2 separate regions of the Homo sapiens genome follow, and region 1 is linked to region 2. The links are contacts of gene promoters, found by promoter capture Hi-C in human tissues and cell types (Jung and others, 2019). All regions are on one chromosome and are shown on one strand. The core of a region is centred on a gene start or on the middle of the fragment in contact, and the rest is flanking DNA. Distances in the headings are between cores, read along the strand shown.

The links. The method cuts DNA at HindIII sites, captures the fragments that hold promoters and counts their contacts. A contact is called where the count stands out against the background at its distance.
Region 1: a fragment that was not itself captured here is called in contact with the fragment with the promoter of FCN2 in region 2 in 2 of the 25 tissues and cell types used here (adrenal gland and lymphoblastoid cells).

Annotation. Positions count from the first base shown.
Region 1 is chr9:134,945,198-134,948,829 of GRCh38, reverse strand. It overlaps LOC105376313 (a long non-coding RNA gene), which reads right to left. Exons shown (of 3, transcript XR_930421.3): 1 at 3,448-3,632; 2 at 3,258-3,362; 3 at 1-1,514. LOC124902302 (a long non-coding RNA gene) reads left to right here and starts at 3,132. Exons shown (of 2, transcript XR_007061846.1): 1 at 3,132-3,423. The HindIII fragment of the contact is 7,666 bases long and covers 1-3,632 here.
Region 2 is chr9:134,879,481-134,882,833 of GRCh38, reverse strand. It overlaps FCN2 (ficolin 2), which reads right to left and starts at 2,024. Exons shown (of 8, transcript NM_004108.3): 1 at 1,913-2,024; 2 at 195-308. The coding sequence starts at 2,012. The HindIII fragment of the contact is 19,799 bases long and covers 1-3,353 here.

The DNA.
Region 1 (3,632 bases), core at 397-2,896, 66 kb before region 2:
TGGGACCCTCTCATGGGAGGGTCTTAAGACCCACAATCCGAAAGGCAGGAGAAAGTTAGGGTGCCGCCTTGGGGCAGGTGAAAGGAGGGCAGGAGAAGGCAGAGGCTGCCCATGAGGCTCAACACCCCCAACATTCTAACGCAAATGGGAACAAGTGCTATGGGAGTTATAAGCCAGGAGCCGCAGACGAAAACCCGTATCTATCCTAACAGCACATAACTATACAAAATCTATTTCCTGGCCACATAGTCACTTTTTAACGTAACCTTGGTTAACAGCATGGTGTTCAGTGTTTACAGAACACCTGGGCCTGGAGTGAGTGTGCCGGTCAGGTTCACATAGATATAAAGGATATGAAGGGAACCCCGGACACTGCTCCAAAAAGCAGACCCAGGGATGCCTGTGGGTGGCCGGTGATGGGCCCCTCTCACCCCTGGGGAGCTGGGCTGGTTGCAACCTGTCCGCCGGCACTGCCAGGCCAGGGTCACGGCTGAGGATACCCAGGGCAGGTGCAGAGGTGAGGAGGTCCCAGGTGAGCACCCTGGGAGTGGGGTGAGCTCTGCCGCGGCTTTCCTGGGGAGGGCTGTGGGAGGCGCAGGTGTGTCAGCAACGACCTGAGGCTGTGCTGTGGCCCCATGGCTTGCTGTCCATGGCCTTCATCTGCCTCTCGCCTCCTCTGGAAATGAGAGTGACTGTCCCGGCCACCCTGACCCCGCTGACCGAGAGCCCAGACGAAGGGGTAGTGGAGGGGGACCTGCTTTTCTGTCCAGAAGGATTTGGTTTGAGCCTTAGTTTCTCATGCAGCTGCAGGTGACAAGGGCCGGCAGCTGTGCCTGGCAGGGCAGGGCCCTTCTATCCAATTCTGAGCTGAATCTTCCAAGCCAATGATCTCACAGACGTGGTGTCAGTGTTACAACAGCCCGCGAGGCTGCCGAGCCACTGAGAAACTAGGGTCACCTGCAAGTGAGCAGGTGGGCAGCACCAGGCAGTGTGGGGGCAAGGATGCCTGCAGGGGCACCTCCTGCAGGGATGAGCCTTCTAGCACATTCTAAGGGAACCAACGCCCTCTGCCCTGCTGGTGCTGTCCCCAGAGACTTTGATAGCTGGGTTTTGGGTGGGTCTTGGCTTCTCAATGTAAGAGGCCAGTGCGGGGTCCTGACGTGCAGCTGGGCTGGGGCGGTGTTCAGAGCACCGGGCTCCTGTCCTCTCTCCTCACCCGTCATGCAGGGACCTCCAGCCTTCCTTCCCCAGGCTGCTGGGGTGGGGAGGGGTGTGGAAGCTAGAGTCTGTGCAGCAAACATGGGTGGTCGACACTGCTGTCTGTCAGGCGGAGCAGCCCTAGAGCGGCACAGCCGGTCCGCTCCCCCGCATCCTTGGAGACAGATGGCCAGAGCCTCTGCTGGGTGGGGGAGAATTCCGCACCCTCCTGGCTGGAGGCGAGGCCGTGGGCCGCCGGCTCTGGGAGCTCCAGGCTCTGCCTCCCACACCCGCTGCTCTGGACACGCAGCATCGCTCTGCGGGGAGAGAATGGTGGCGGGCCTGGCTGGCTCTCCCTGGCCCCCCAGGGACCTAGTGGGAACAAGCACTGCAGGACCAGGAGAGAAAGTGGGTGAGGAAGCGGGGGGGGGGGTGTGGGGGTGAGCGAGTGTGAGTGTGCAAGCAGGTGTACCCGGCTATGCATGAGCACAGTGGCTGTGTGCAGGGGTGTGCCTGTGTCTGTGTGTGTGTCTGGTGTGAATGTGTCTTTGCCTGTGTCTGTGTGAATGTGTCTTTGTGTGTGTGTCTGGGGTGAATGTATCTGTGTCTGTCTGAAGTGAATGGTCTGTGTGTGTATCTGGTGTAAATGTATCTTTGTGTGTGTCTGGTGTGAATGTGTCTGTGTGTGTTACTGGTGTGAATGTGTGTGTGTCTGGTGTGAATGGTCTGTGTGTGTCTGGTGTGAATGTGTGTGTGTCTGGTGTGAATGGTCTCTGTCTAAAGTGAATGGTCTGTGTGTGTGTATCTGGTGTAAATGTCTCTTTGTGTGTGTCTGGTGTGAATGTGTCTGTGTGTCTGGTGTGAATGTGTGTGTGTCTGGTGTGAATAGTCTGTATGTCTGGTGTGAATGGTCTGTGTGTGTCTGGTGTGAATGTGTGTGTGTCTGGTGTGAATGGTCTTTGTGTGTGTCTGGTGTGAATGTGTATGTGTCTGGTGTGAATGGTTTGTGTCTGTGTCTGGTGTGAATGTGTCTTTGTGTGTGTGTGCCTGATGTGAATGTATCTGTGTCTGGTTTGAATGTGTCTGTGTGTGGCTGGTGTGAATGTGTGTGTGTCTGTCTGAAGTGAATGGTCTGTGTGTATCTGGTGTAAATGTGTCTTTGTGTGTGTGTGTGGTGTGAATGTGCCTGTGTGTTTTTGGTGTGAATGTGTCTGTGTGTGTGTCTGGTCTGAATGTGTCTTTGTGTGTGTGTCTGCTGTGAATGGTCTTTGTGTGTGTCTGGTGTGAATGTGTCTGTGTGTGTGTGTCTGGTGTGAATGTACCTGTGTGTTTTTGGTGTTAATGTGTCTGTGTGTCTGGTGTGAATGTGTCTGTGTGTGTGTGTCTGGTGTGAATACATCTGTGTGTGTGTCTGGTGTAACCCTGTCCCAAGGAGTGGCCCAGCCATCCTTCATGGGTCACAGACTGTGACATTTGGGACTACCAAGTAGTGGGCTTCCCCTGCTGTCCCCAACCCCACCCCACACCCCCAGCACCAGGTGGCTTCATCAGAGTCACAGCTGCCTGTTTGGGAGGCTCTGGGCCCTGAGCGGAGAGGGAAAGGGGCAGATGGGCCAGCACACACTCAACTCACTCTTCGACTTGGCTTTCGCAGGTGGAGCTGCCAGAGGAGCCTCACAGCCTCCCCCAGCCCACAGTGACCACCCTCCTGCCATGAGGCCACTGCTGATGAGCCTGAGTCCCATGTGCATTTGAGGGCACCTGTGGCCCCAGGCTCCGGGCCAGGGCCTGGCTCAGGGCAAGAACCAAGTTAACTGTCTCGTGAATTGGGGACGGGGTAGGCTGCATGGGCAGAGGTGACAGGGGTGCTTCCCCACCCTCCGCGCCACCCTCTGCCCTCTGCCCTTTGCCCTCTGCCCTCTGCCCTCCGCCCTCTGCCCTCCACCCTCTGCCCTCCGCTCTCCAGGTGGCTTTCCCCAGGACCAAGTGTGGTTCTGCCCTGGGAAGAGAATGGAGCAAGGGTCTCCTGGCAGAAATTAGGAACCCAGGACTTTACCCACCTTCAACCAGCCAAATGGCCTCGGTCAATCCTCTCGAACTGCATACCTCAGTATTCCCATTTGTATAAAGAGGGTCTCCATGCTCTTTGAGGACCAGGATCAGATCTGACAAGTGCAAGGTTAAGGTCAGGCTTTCTGGTGACAGAAGGTGTGCAAGCTGACACAGGTGAGGTTTTGTTGACCTGCTTACCTTGCTGGCGTTTTCTTCTTCCTGAAATCCCTGCTTACTGTTTCTCCTCCATTGCCCACCACCTGCCCCAAAACATTCCCCGCCTGCCAGGTAGGGAGACCTGCAGTGAGGACACCCACACGCGGGGTTTCTGTGTCCCTCGAGAGGGGGTGCGAGGGCAATGCCAAACAGGGGAGGGTGGCTAA
Region 2 (3,353 bases), core at 775-3,274:
CTCATGAAATAGCTAAGAAAGACGCTCCCTCCATGTCAGAACCCTGTTGGGCCCTGGGAGTCAGTTCTTTTCCTGGCTCTTGCAGGGGCCTGACCCAGCTCTCGATCTAGGAACCATGGTGGGGGTGTTGCCCAACTCAGCATCTGGTTTCAAAAAGAGCAAGAGCCAGTGCCCCCAGCCATGCCTGCACCTACCTCTCTTTCCATTGGTGCCTGCCTCTCCCTTGGGCCCAGGGGCCCCAGGCAGCCCCGGACAGCCTCGGAGAATGGTGAGCTTGTCAGAGCCCTCCAGGCCCACCATCTTCACCTCTGCAGAAAAACACAGGTGGCCACTCAGTGTCACCTGGGCCTGAAGACTCCACTGAGCCATAGATATACCACTCAACTGAAAGGCATCTGCCATCTTGGTGACATCAGGACTGGGCAGATGGCTATAGCCACAGCCACCTCCCTCAGCTGGAGGGTCACCTGGAAGGGAGGTTTTCCTGCCCTGGTGGGCACTTGGTCTGTCCTCACCTCTTGGGCACTGGTCAGGCAGAAAGGTGATTTGGGGCAGAACCCTGGCCTTGGAGGCTACCCTGCCTGAAGGCAAACCTTACTTCCTCAGTACTGTGTGTCCTGAAACAAGTCCCTTAACCCCTCTGAGCCTCTGTTCCCTTACCTACCGAGGGGTGCAGGTTCATTTCAGCTCCTACCATTTAAGACAGCATCCTAATCTCGTCTGTTCTCATCTATCATATCATTGTAATCAATATCGGGTGAGAAGGACACAGGGAGAGAGGCTACCATTGCAACTCCCACGCCTGATCTTGGAGCAGATCTGAGAGTGGATGGGCTCCTGTGGGTCCACCTTGTTCCTCCACAGAGGGAGGCGTCCTTCAAGGACACTGAACAAGTTGGTGCGAAACTAGAGCTGGAATGCAGCTTGTTGTTTTTAATTAGATAACTCAAATTCAAGTGAGTGTGTTACAAAAATAACACGTGCTATTATTTGATCATTTAGAAACTCTAGAAGTATTTAAGGAAGAAAATAATGCCACCCTAACCCCACCACTCCACAACGAGCCACTAGGAGTTTCCAAGCGAATCCCCGCTGTTCCTGGCCTGTGTCACACTTCACGCCACGGATTGCTCCTTGAATGCGATGCTAGTCACAGCACACCGCAGAGCTCTGTGTCTCACATGCATTCCAGAAATCCTGACACGAATCTCTGCAAGCATCAGGAGCATCACAAATTCCTGACCCTGCATCCCAGCCCCGGGTAGACGGAGTCAGGACCTGACTCCAGAACCTGCATTTTCAACCTGCCCTCGCATGCGCCGGAGCCCATGGTTTGGCACCCGAGTGTCCCCTCGGGAGCCCCGAAGGAGGTCCAGAACTCACGGGGACAATGCCACCCTTATTGTGCCGCATCAGGGACACCATGGGAACTGCCATCTCCAGAGCCCAGCAGGTCCTGGATGGAAAGGTCCTGCAGTGCTCATCCCCGCCTGACACCCTGTCTTTCCGGGTGCTTATCCCCACCTCACACCCTGTCTCTCTGTGATGGCGACCATGGCAGAATATCTGACTGGTGTCTACCCAGCTGGCACCACAAGCCTCACCTCCCCACACAACACCATGACTACGCTTTTTACGCTTAGAGGGGGACATGTGGCCCAGGGAGACTGGAAACCTGCCTCGGTTTCCATTATGGGAGGGCAAGCAGAGGAAGCTCCGTCTCTGAGATGCCACATCCATTCGGGGCCTCTGCGTTTGTTCACATAAGATGAGGCATGCAGAGCTGCTGTCTCGTTAGACGATGCTCCACACGGCCTGGTGCAAGGCCTGGAAGCCAGGAAGCCACCAATCACGAAGCTGCCAGCTTTCAGGGACGAGAAGTTTCCAGGAGGAGGCCCTGGAGTGCCCTTACCTGGACAGGTGTCTGCCGCCTGGAGAGCCCAGGCCATGCCCAGGAAAGAGAGCAGCAGGGTGGCAGCGCCCAGGACCCCCACAGCTCTGTCCAGCTCCATCTCTTCTGGTCTTTGCTTCAAAAGGTGCCTGCCCTCTTATAGGGCTAGAGAAGCCAGCCTCCCTCAGACTCCAATTTCTCATCTTCCGAGTGACAGCCGCTTCCTCTCCGCGGGCTTGGTGACGCCAGCAGGAGGTGCGAGATCATCTCCAGGGCTGCTCCCTACCCCCCGCCCCTTGGGGATCCCATGGCGACTGTCATCCCTGCAGGGGGACGGTCTCCTTCCAGGGAACAGGCTGACTTGCTTGTGGCCTTGGGCAAAGAGCCCAGGCCCATCCTCCCACCTTTGTTCAGCGGTGAGCAGATGTCACCATGAGCTGAGAACGGGGAACAAGGAAGGGTTTGCTAAAGATGTTCTGCTTCAAAGAGGTCTCTCTCCCTTATCCGAATACCTAGAGTCCTCATGGCCAGGGCTGGTCATGGGCCACTGGTGTGGGCCTTACACAGTAACCCTCACCACATCATGAGCAGACTTGGGACTCTCCTCAGGAGGCTTGGAAACTGCCACTATGAGGTCCAGGCAGGCTGCCAGGGTGAAAAGGAGAGGAAAATGCGTGTGTGTCCACTGTTTCCTGGGGCAGTATGTAGAGCACAGGGGCACATGAACAGGAGGGAAAGGAGAGAAGAGTGGGGAGCCTGGGGGACTATGACCCAGGTACACATCTGAAGGGGAGACCTTGAGTGTGAATGCAGGGGCTTAGCCTGTAGGGAGGATGAGAGTAGGTGAATTTCACTCCTAGGGCCCAGGGAACCCCCTGAGCCCTGAGGCCAGACATCCCACCTGTAGGATGGCTGTGGACTTACTTCAGTGGTTGTGTTCGCCTTTTGGAGAAGAGCTGGCCTGAAGGTGCACTCTCGCCTTGGACTGAGCCAGGTTAGAGACAGAGACAGTAGCAGGTGGGGCCCCAGAGGCCGTATACCTAAAGCCCCCAGAGACGGAACCAGCACTGCACCTCCCACTACCACCACCGCACCCTGCCACCTGCTGCCATCGGGATGCCGAGGTGCCTTCTTCCTTGGCAAGATCAGTAGAAGGATTTTAAACTGTGACCCCAGCCCAGCAAAGCCACGCGAGAAACAAAATCCCATCGGATTTTCCTTCAATGCCCATGGAGATGTGTGGTCCTGAGACTATGACTAGTTAAGACCCCCCTCGGGTTCCGTGGTGTTTAGGGCAGACCTCTCAAGACTTAATTAAGGCTATGCCAGATGCAGATGAGGTCCAGGGATGAACCTGGGGAAGACACAGGCTCCATGGAGATGCAGATATGGAACCTAGAAAGATGGCTTGGGGGCATCTTCCTCAAAGTCCTGAAGTCACCTGCAGAGGAGCCAGGTCCCC